2 separate regions of the Homo sapiens genome follow, and region 2 is linked to region 1. The links are contacts of gene promoters, found by promoter capture Hi-C in human tissues and cell types (Jung and others, 2019). All regions are on one chromosome and are shown on one strand. Each heading gives the region's core, a stretch centred on a gene start or on the middle of the fragment in contact. The rest is flanking DNA. Distances are from core to core; before and after follow the strand shown. Region 1 holds the start of FUNDC1 (FUN14 domain containing 1). Region 2 overlaps KDM6A (lysine demethylase 6A).

Region 1 (5,715 bases), core at 867-3,366:
TATTAAAAGTAATTAATAAATAAGAATATTAATAAATGGGCATATTGTAAAAAGAAATAATAAAGTGCCAGGATTTGAAAAGCCAAGTGCATCTATGCAAGCCAATTTTTAAAGTAATGCAATTTATGCCAGAATTCCTTGTTTTTCCATTAAAATGAATACTGAGAGGACTTTTGTTTAATTGTACAGCAGATGCGGGTGCAACGCAAGTTCAAGACAAGTTTCTGGGTTGGTTTATGTGGACTTGGGTTAGCTGCTTGGTGATCAATATGGCTTTGTATTCATAGAATCCCATGGGGTTTCTGGGTGAAGACCTTGACCTTGTTCCTCTGTCAGATTTAAATAATAAGAATGATGCTGGCCGGGTACGGTGGCTCACCCCTGTGATCCCAGCACTTTGGGAGGCCCAGGTGGGTGGATCACTGAGATCAGGAGTTCGAGACCAGCCTGGGCAACATGGTGAAACCCCCTCTCTACTAAAAATACAAAAATTAGCCGGGCGTGGTGGCACGTGCCTGTAATCCCAGCTCCTTGGGATGTTGGGAGGCTGAGGCAGGAGAATCACTTGAATTCGGGAGGTGGAGGTTGCAGTGAGCCGAGATTGTGCCATTGCACTCCAGCCTGGGCAACAGAGCGAGATTCCATCTCAAACAAACAAACAAAAGAATGACACTAAAAAATTATGTCCTCTTGCCAGGTCAGGAATTACGAGGTTTCTAGGCCTTTCTTTACCTCCTTTGGATTCCTGGCAGGAACTCAAGAGAGAGAGCAGGTAAACAGATTCCAACTTCTAGCAGCAGGGCATTAGAAAACTTGTGGTCCCTTTGTGAGCGCTTGCGCCCTTAGAAAAGTATGGCTTGAAACAGGGTTTCTCTTATCTTTTACAAGCCTTTTTCCTCAAGCATTTGAATTCTGGTAATGTTCAAAATACTGTTAAAAAATTATTCTGACAGTATGCAAGTGATGGGCCTGACAAAAAAATTATGGGACACTTCTTAAAATGGTAAGGAAGACTTTGTTCATGACTACTGCAATAGGTATCACAACTATTGCAATACAGCCTGGCATGGTGGCTCACATCTGTAATCCCAGCACTTTGGGAGGCAGAGGCAGGAAGACTGCTTGAGCCCAGAAGTTTAAGAGCAGCCTGGGCAACACAGGGAGACCTACTCTCCACAAAAAATAAAAATAAATTAGCCGGGAGTGGTGATGCACGCCTGGAGTCCTGGGTACTCTGGAGGCTGAGGTGGGCCGATCTCTTGGGCCCAGGAGTTTGAGGCTGCAGTGAGCCATGATAGCGCCACTGCACTCCAGCCTGGTGACAGAGCAATACCTTTTCTCATAAAACAAAGACTATGGCAATAGGGGTGAGTGATGGGTCTCAACTCTGAATACAGCAGGGAATTTATAGTAAATGATCAGAGTGAATGGATCAATGGGTGGAAGATTACCAAGAGTAGACATGAAGGGTAGGGGTATTCTTGCTAAAGCCAATTTAACAGGATTTTTGCTGGTGGCAGAGTGATCAGATATCAAGAGTGGGGTTGAGGAATTCGATCGGATATTGAGGGTGATTCGATATTAAGGGTGGGGGAGTTCTTACTAAACTGACTTAACTGCATTCTTACCACAAATGGACTAGGCAGGTCAAAGACGACCCAAGGAGGAGACCCAGTCAAAAACAGCTCAGAGGAGCCTCCTGACTAAAGTTTGGTCAAGGAGAGAGTCTTTGTCAATACCCAGCTGGTTCTCCCTTTGTACCACCATGTGGCGCCCTTCACCCCATTCCTTCAGCCCTTAAGGCTCTTTTAAAACAAAATAATCAAATTCAAGTTACGGAAATTCTAGGAGGGGCGGTCCCTCCCCCTTCCTAGTTGCGGAAGGCAACGGACTACAAGTCCCCTACGCTCTCGCGGGGCTATGATCCGCCCGGCCCTCCCCACATTCCGGAGTTTCGCGCCTGCGCAGAAGGCAGAAGGTCCTGCGCTGAGAGAAGGGGGCGGAGACAGGACTACGCGCCTGGAGTAGGAGAAGGAGGAAAAAAGAGACCATAGACTTCCATCCTGGCCTAGAGCGGCCCTTAAAGTGCCAGGGAGAGGAGGGCGGGTGGGGACCACTCCAGAATTGGCCGCTGGCGGTATCATGGCGACCCGGAACCCCCCTCCCCAAGGTGAGCGGCCAGGGCCCGAAGTGGTATCTGGGACGCGGCTCACAGCTCTCGACCTTGCTCCTATGGCACCTCTTCCTTCCCCTGCCCTAGGATTCTTCGAGCTCCATTTTTTTTTTAAGGCAGCCCCTTCGAGCACCCCCTCCGAGCTAGACTTTTTCCTCCCCTCTCTGCGGAACTCAAGCGGAGAGCCACCCCCACCCCCAGCACAGCCCTACCTGCCTCCTGCCTTACCTTCACCTCCGGCCCTTCATCTCCCATCTTCAAATGTATTATTTTCTTTTTTTAAACGTCTGGACTCAAGTGATTTCGCTGAGCTCCAGACTAGTTCTCTCAGGAGGACCCCTCCCCACCCCCATTCCTCCCACTGATGAAAATGGACCCTGCTCTGACCTTGACCCTACTAAGGTTTGGAGGTGGGGGTGACCCCTCACTACTGTGTCATTCTGAGTTGGCCCTGGCTTCGTGACCCCAGGCTGGTCCCCGGGCCTTTGGGAAAGCAGATGGGGGTCATTGTTGCAGGGTCCTTTACTCTTGAGGCCCTGGTCTCAAGAATTGAGTTAAATAAAGTCAGTAGTTTCTATGTGGGCATTTTTAGCTGTAGGCCAGAACTAATGAGTTGTAACAGATTTTTAAAAAGATGTATAGAACATTTCTGACTTTTGATTGACTCTACATTTATTTTTTGCATTTTGCTATTTTGAAGACTATGAAAGTGATGACGACTCTTATGAAGTGTTGGATTTAACTGAGTATGCAAGAAGACACCAGTGGTGGAATCGAGTGTTTGGCCACAGTTCGGGACCTATGGTAGAAAAATACTCAGTAGCTACCCAGATTGTAATGGGTGGCGTTACTGGCTGGTGAGAACAACGTCTTTTTCATTAAATTTCATTTGGGGGCCTGACACTGCTGTCCTTTCATACATGGGCAAGAATCACCGTGCACAGGCAGTAGGTCTACACTGTTAATTCCAGAAGAGGCTTTTCTCTGAGTTAAAATTGATGTAATCTACATTCCCAGGCTCCCTGTTGAGTTTTGGCGATCCCCTCCCCCATGCCCACCACTGTTCCTCTTCTCCCTCCTCATCCTTCTTTTGATTCTTTATATAATTTCCCCATTCTCATGTTCAGCAAATGTCGTGGATCTGATTCAGTGATAGTAGATAGGAAGAAATATATGAGTTAATTATATGTAAATTTTTACATTTCATTCAGTGCTAACTGCTGAAAAAACCTAAGAAACTCCCACGGTAGAACTGGCCTCTAGTATTGTCAGCCCTGTACAGAGCAGTGTAAAATGCTCAGTATGAATTATTGGTGATGATACAGATGATTCTGTTTTTTGTGGGCTCGTTCAGATTATGATAACTCTTTGAAAAAGAGCTGTAGAACGTTAATTCTGTGTTTAAAGGTCTGATTGCTTACTTGATAATATTGTGGAGTCCATTAAGAAGTAGTTAATAACCATCAGCCTGACCAGTTAACATTTCAGACCACGTGATAACACAATGGCTACTGTGGATCTAATTCTGTTCTTATAATAAAAAAACTAGCCAGATAACAAGGGGCAGAAACAAATTTGACTGTTTTGAAAATGTTCGTGACTGTAGAGAAATTTTGGAGTTAGTGAGGGTACTTAACTTGTGCATAAGCGTTTTTTCTTAGATTCTTATTTAAATTCATCTTACATAGATTTAATTGAAATATTTACCTGTTTCCACTTGATAAGTATAACGATGAGTTTTTTGATTTGTGTTTTACATGCACCTTGGAATAATGACCCACTCTTCTATGCCTTTTTTTTTGCAAATGCCATTTTATGATAGAAGTACTCATTGTGAAGATTCTGTGGTGCAGAGGTGCGGCATTTATTCATGATATGTACTTACTAGTGCTGCTGCAGGAAAAAAGCCTGCAATTAGAAGAGAGATGCCTGTCAGGGCCTGGTCATTCAGATAATTCTCCACAGGCTGATAGTTCCTCTAGCCCTGTAATTCAGGGTATGGCTCTGCTTAAATAAGCTCACAATTTGGTTCCATGGGTGATTGGTTAATGTCAGTCAGGGCCTAAAGCCCAGTCTTAAAACAGACTCAAAAATAATTGAGAATAGAATTATCAAGTCATTTCATTGTTTCTCCTTGGAGACCAGACTCCTTGTAGATGAAGCCCCATCATTGGCAGAAGTTTGCTCGGAAAGCCTAGAGACAGAGCAGCAGGAGATAGGTTCATTTTAGTGACTGATGCCATCAAGCAATGGATACACATGCTTGTGGAACACAGTCCAAGGGACATTGTGGCTGCTGCCTGCCTTTTCTGTTCCCTTTTCTGAGCCTTTGTTGCTGACATATATGTATATATACATACACACACACACACACACACACACACACAACACACACATTTGGATTACAGCCAGGTGTTGGTCCAGGAGCTGTATAATACAACTCTAATAATTATACAGGCGATTTGTTGCAATGACTATATTCAGTGTAGTAAATTTTTGCAATTTTCTTAGGATGTAAAACTGATGTGATATTATGGTGTATATTAAGGAGGAACAGTTAATAGGCACTAACCTAACAAGTTAGCAATTTAGACCAATTCAAGACATGTATAGGAGGCTGAGGAGATTTTATTTTGCTGTAGGTAGCTGTAGGCTTTTGATCATGACAAAAAATTAAAACTATTAGGATGGGTCCTTGCTAGGAGAGATGGGAGGTGTTGAGACCAGTTAGAGGGCCCTTAAAGTGTTCTGGAAGCAAGGTAATGATGACCTTGAGAGTGGAAAGGAGAAGACAGTCAAATAATGTTTTGGAGATAAAATATATAGAACTGTGGAGGCCAGGTGCGGTGGCTTACACTGGTAATCCCAGCACTTTGGGAGGCCGAGGCGGGTGGATCACCAGAGGTCAGGAGTTCAAGACTAGCCTGGCCAACATTGTGAAACCCCGTCTCTACTAAAAATACAACAATTAGCTGGGTGTGGTGGCGGGCATCTGTAATCCCAGCTATTCAGGAGGCTGAGGCAGGAGAATTGCTTGAACCCGGGAGGCGGAGGTTGCAGTGGGCTGAGATGGCACCAGTGCATTCCAACCTGGGTGACAGAGCGAGCTCCATCTAAAAAATAAATTAATTAATTAAATTAAATAACAGAAATTTATTCTCTCACAGTTCTGGAGGCTAGAAGTCTGAAATCAGGATGTCAACAGGGTTTGTTCCTTCTTGGAGGCTCAGAGGGAGAAATCTGTTTTATGTTTCTCTGCTAGCTTCTGGTGGTTGCCAGCAATCCTTGTCATTCCTTGGCTTGTAGACGTATTACTCCAGTCTCTGCCTCTGTTGTCCTCACATGTCGTCTTCCCTCTGTGTGCGTCCTTATCGGATTAAAGGCCCACCCTGTCCAGTATGATCTCATCTGAACTTATTACATCTGCAGTGACTCTGTTTTCAAATAAGGTCACATTTAGAGGTTTTGGGAAGGATATGAATTTTGAGGGGGACACCATTCAACCCAGTGCAGAAGGCTAGAGTTAGAAATATAGGATTCAT
Region 2 (5,715 bases), core at 961-3,460, 340 kb before region 1:
CAGTGGCCAGTAATATTCCCATAAAACCTACTTCTGGTCATGTCACTTCACCTGATTAGAGAGTTCAGTTTAACAATGCCCCAAAACATCCTACGGCCTATAGTGATGGGGCTTCTCACATGTTCAGTTATCTTTTCCCAATCCCACTGAAACATGCTACCCTCTACCCATACCTGACTATTCACAATTCCTCAAACACCATTTAACTTTATACCTCTAACTCTTTTTTTTTTTTTTTTTTTTTTTTTTGAGATAGAGTTTCACTCTTGTTGCCCAAGCTGGAGTGCAGTGGTGCAATCTCGGCTCACCACAACCTCCACCTCCCGGGTTCAAGCTATTCTCCTGCCTCAGCCTCCCAAGTAGCTGGAATTACAGGCATGCGCCACCACACCCGGTTAATTTTGTATTTTTAGTAGAGATGGGGTTTATCCATGTTGGTCAGGCTGGTCTCGAACTCCCGACCTCAGGTGATCCACCAGCCTCGGCCTCCCAAAGTGCTGGGATTACAACAGGCGTGAGCCTCCACGCTCAGTTTATACTTCTAACTCTTTACCCTCTTTTTCCTCTTGCTACATCTACATGTCTGGTAAATTTCTACATGTTTCATAACCAAGGCTAAATGCTGAATCTTTGTGCAGTTTCCCTCAGTCACTTCTCCAGTCAAAACTAACTGCTCCAGGCCAGGCGGGGTGGCTCACGCTTGTAATCCCAGAACTTTGGGAGACAAAGACGGGAGGATCACTTGAGGCCAAGAGTTCAAGACCAGCCTGGCCAACATGGTGAAACCCCATCTCTACTAAAAATCAAAAAAATTAGCTAGGCATGGTGGCGCACGCTTGTAATCCTAGCTATTCGGGAGGCTGAAGCAGGAGGATCACTTGAACCTGGGAGGTGGAGGTTGCAGTGAGCCAAGATCACACCACTGCACTCCAGCCTGGACGACAGAGCGAGACTCTGTCTCAAAAAACAAACTAACTGCTCCAGCCAGCACAGTGGCTCACACCTGTAATCCCAGGACCTATGGAGGCTGACACGGGCAGATACCTTGAGCCCAGGAGTTAGAGACCAGTCTGGGCAACATAATGAAACCCTGTCTCTACAAAAAAATACAAAAAAGTAGCCAGGCTTGGTGGTTCACGCTTATAGTCCCAGCTACTCAAGAGGCTGAGACAGGAGAATTGCTTGAGCCTGGGAGGCAGAGGTTGCAGTGAGCCGAGATAGCATCGCTGCACTCAGCCTGGGTGACAGCTGACATAGTGAGACCCTGCCTCAAAAAAAAAAAAAAACTTAACTGCTCCAAAATGTGGAGAACCGTTGAAAACAGGAGTTCATTAAACTACCTTCAATACCTGTACATACTTTAAATGATGCATAATAAAAAGTTTTAAATGTTTTAATTACTCCATCATTTCAGAGCTCACAGCACTTTGCATGTATCTTTATTATTACACTTAATACATCATATGATCACTCAGTCTGTCAGCCTCTCCCAACAGACTGACTGCAGGACAGAGGCCAGGTCTTATTGGTTGCCCCAGAACCTGACACAATCCCTCACCCACAGCAGCTCAACAAATGTTTCACCAATCAATCAAGCAAAGCAAAAGCTTTTGTAGTTCTCATTCTGATATTTGAAATTCAGAAACCTAAAATATTTATTTAACTACTGTATCTTGAAAACAAATTTTCCCTAAAAATAAAAACTATCCAGACTCAAGCAACTATGATTCATAAAGTTCTCAGGAAAAATTACCTCTTGTGTCACATATTATGTAATATTCTATCACAGAACACTATAGCAGTATCAAAATACAAACAAAATTCACATCACATACTCAGCTAAACATGTTTTCTACTCATTTTCCAAGCAATTATTTCTTAACTTCCATACAGCAAAAAACAAGGTCCACAGATATTTGAGATTAAGAAATTATTTTACATGTAATAAGGGCATCACGGTTATGTTTCAGAAACAAACATCTATGGATTAAATGCTGTGACTGATTGCTGAGATGTGCTTCAAAATAACATGAGTGAGGGGCAAAATATATATAGATGAAACAGGACTGGTCATGAGTTGCAAACTATTAAAGCTGGGTGATGGTTGATTTGCAATACTTTCTGAAAACACTGAAAATTTTTCCTAATAAACTTTTTTTTCAAAAAGAGAGAAAAATCTAATGAACACGTAATAAATTTGTAGTTTAAAAATAACCCTTTGTCTAAAACAATTTCTTCCACTGTTCTAAACTAAAATGAATTAGATGACCTTATATAATACCCTTAAGTATAACCCCAACTTTCTTCCTGAGAATAAACTTAGCAGCAGCATCTTCTATTTATTCTAACAAAGGCAAAATACTCAGCCAGGCATGGTGGCTCACGCTTGTAATCCCAGCACTTCAGGAGGCCGACGCGGGGGGATCAACTGAGGTCAGGAGTTGGAGACCAGCCTGGCGAACACAGTGAAACCCCATCTCTACTAATAATACAAAAATTAGCTAGGCGTGGTGGTGCACACCTGTAATGTCAGCTACTCAGGAGGCTGAGGAAGGAGAATCGCTCGAACCCTGGAGACGGAGGTTGCAGTGAGTCGAGATTGCGACATTGCACTGCAGCCTGGGCAACAAAAGTGAAATGCCATCTCAAAAAAAAAAAAAAGACAAAATAGTACCACAGAGAAAATTACAAAAAGCATACAAGAATACATTCACAATGGAACACCACCAACAGTTTTAATAATATACAGAAGTAAACAAATGATGGAATATAAGGAAGAAATAGGTAAGAGAAAAAATAATAAAAGCTTATAGAAGAAAGTTGCAAGCAGTCTACAAATTAGCTCAGAAACCTAAAACTGTCTAACAAGGGATTACTCCCACCCTTCCAGGTGACAGTTTTTTTGTTGTTTTTTGTTTTTGAGATGGTGTCTTGCTCTGTCGCCAGGCTGGAGTTCAGTGGCACGATCTCGGCTCACTGCAATCTCCATCTCCTGGGTTCAAGCAATATTCTCCTGCCTCAGCCTCTCGAGTAGCTGGGATTACAGGTACGCGCCATCACACCCAGATAATTTTTGTATTTTTAGTAGAGACGGGGTTTCACCATGTTAGCCAGGCTGGTCTCGAGCTCCTGACCTCGTGATGCCCGCCTCGGCCTCCCAAAGTGCTGGGATTACAGGCATGCGCCACCGCGCCCGGCCCAGGTTACAGTTCTTAATCAGGTCCCAAGTATCAGCCTGTGCCAAATCAGACTCAAAATAAAGTCAGCAATGAAATGCTAAAGATCAAAATGAAGAATGAGCGCAGTGACTGTCACAAAGCCATCTAAAACACAAAGAAATAGGACCTAATTGGGTACATCTCTACTCCATTCACTCCTACCCTCACTGAAGGAACATCAAGTTCAAAAGTATCCCAACTTCAGACTGTAATTAAAATGCAAGAAAGGCCTTTACAAGTATCTCTTCTAACTATAGACATGGTAGTTTAAACCCATTTTTAGTCAACCAAAATATAACATTCTGGTGTACTATCAGAGTACTTTTTTTTGTTTGTTTGTTTGAGATGGAGACATGCTCTGTTGCCCAGGCTGGAGTGCAGTGGCGCGATCTCGGCTCACTGCAACCTCCGCCTCCTTGGTTCAAACAATTCTCCTGCCTCAGCCTCCCAAGTAGCTGGGATTACAGGCGCCCACCACCACGCCTGGCTAATTTTTTGTGTTTTTAGTGGAGATGAGGTTTTGCCACTTTGGCCAGGCTGGTCTCGAACTCCTGACCTCAGTTGATCCATCCGCCTCAGTCTCCCAAAGTGCTGGGATTACAGGCACGAGCCACCACGCCTGGCCTTATTGTATTATTTTTAAGGTAATATATGTCTACGGTGTTAAAAAAAAAAAAAAAAGCAGTACAGAAATCTATAAAACAGTTTAAAATCTCCCCTCCTTCTCACCCCAAAAGTGTCTTGTACTCCAAGATGACCATTAAGTCATCCTGAGTGTCCTTCCAAACTCTGTCAGAGAATTTAAATTGACCCATGAACACTCATTTAAGAATCTCAAGTTAAGAACTCATAACAAGGTAAATATTACTACAAAATGAAATCAAAGAAGGACAGAACACACAGCAGATCATCCTTTGAACATCTGCTAAAAGCTAAAATGTGATTTTTTTTTTTTTTTTTTGAGATGAAGTCTCGCTCTGTCGCCCAGGCTGGAGTGCAGTGGCACCATCTCAGCTCACTGCAACCTCTGCCTCCCAGGTTCAAGCAATTCTCCTGTCTCAGCCTCCCAAGTAGCTGGGACTACAGGTGCACGCCACCACGCCCGGCTAATTTTTATATTTTTAGTAGAGACGTGGTTTCACCATATTGGTCAGGCTGGTCTCAAACTCCTGACCTCAAGTGATCCGCCCACCTCAGCCTCCCAAAGTGCTGGGACTACAGGTGTGAGCCACCACACCCAGCCTTAAAATGTGATTTTTAAATCATGTTTTCCTAAACAAAATTATAAGATGCCTTGCTAACATCTAAATCAAGAAATACCATCTCCAAGAAACACAATCAACAAACAATCCCCATCTTTAAGAGCCATTCTAACTTGTGAATTGTTAAATTTACCTTTCTCATAAACTTTCAGAATATTTCACATTTTTCTTCTCCCAAAGATGGTCCTGTGTTAGTCACCCTTAAACTTATCTCACCCCTCTTAAAGAATTTAAGTTCAACACGGGCAAGAAATATCTATGCTATCTTCATACTATCTACATAGAAGGCTTGCACATAGTGTACATTAATATACTGTTTTAATTTACTGTCACGATAATTTACAAACCAATGTGGAAAACTGATAAAATTATATGTGAAGTTTCAATATGAGTACTTAAGACTGTCAATTATGCATTCATTAAATAAACTTTATTAATTAACTAATCTACAAATAATACATGTGAGTCCTAAACAGCCTAACCACCATTTCAATTCTTAGACAAGCTGGTAGTGTTTTCTTAACATAAATTAGCTCTCTAGATAACACATTTCAAAAATATTATTAATAATGCAGTGTTAGCAGTCATTAACATCAATTTCAAAGAGTTCAACGCATCACAATGAATTTCAAAGTAAAAATAAACTTAACAGAAATCCTTTCAAAGATGCAGAATATTGGTACTATGTAAACAAAAACTAAATGTTACATAATTTAAGTCAGAAAAAGACTTACTCTGCAGCTAGCCAAGCAATGAACTTTCATTTTGGTTTAAAGTGCATGACCTATCACTTCACCTAAGTCACAAAAATTCATCTCTCAGGCAGTTTTTCTTAACAGCTTAAGATATTGGCCAGGTGCGGCGGCTCACACCTGCAAAGCCAGCACTTTAGGAGGCCATGGTGGGCTGATCACGTGAGGTCAGGAGTTTGAGACCAGTCTGGCCAACACGGTGAAACCCCACCTCTAATAAAAACACAAAAATTAGCCGGGTGTGGTGGCAGGCACCTGTAATCCCAGCTACGCAAGAGGCTGAGGCATAAGAATCACTTGAACCTGGAAGACCGAGGTTGCAGTGAGCCGAGATCACTCTACTGCACTCCAGCCTGGGGGATAGTGTGAGACTGTCTCAAATTAAAAAAAAAAACAAAAAGTATCTAGAGGTGGCAGTCAAATGCTCTCTAGTTATTTCAATTTGTAATTGATTCGACAGAAAGAACTATTTACTGAAAAAGA

Evidence for each region. The method cuts DNA at HindIII sites, captures the fragments that hold promoters and counts their contacts. A contact is called where the count stands out against the background at its distance.
Region 2: a contact is called between a fragment that was not itself captured here and the fragment with the promoter of FUNDC1 in region 1, in 1 of the 25 tissues and cell types used here (adrenal gland).

What each region holds. Positions count from the first base shown.
Region 1 is chrX:44,539,260-44,544,974 of GRCh38, reverse strand. FUNDC1 (FUN14 domain containing 1) reads left to right here and starts at 2,116. Exons shown (of 5, transcript NM_173794.4): 1 at 2,116-2,170; 2 at 2,874-3,030. The coding sequence starts at 2,143. RefSeq lists enhancers at 1,732-1,791, 1,802-1,851, 2,032-2,421. The HindIII fragment of the contact is 19,174 bases long and covers 1-5,715 here.
Region 2 is chrX:44,878,637-44,884,351 of GRCh38, reverse strand. The region is part of intron 2 of KDM6A (lysine demethylase 6A); the gene reads right to left. Among named protein-coding and RNA genes, the nearest start is that of KDM6A, 8.3 kb to the right of the region's middle. RefSeq lists a silencer at 5,241-5,382. The HindIII fragment of the contact is 5,938 bases long and covers 1-5,179 here.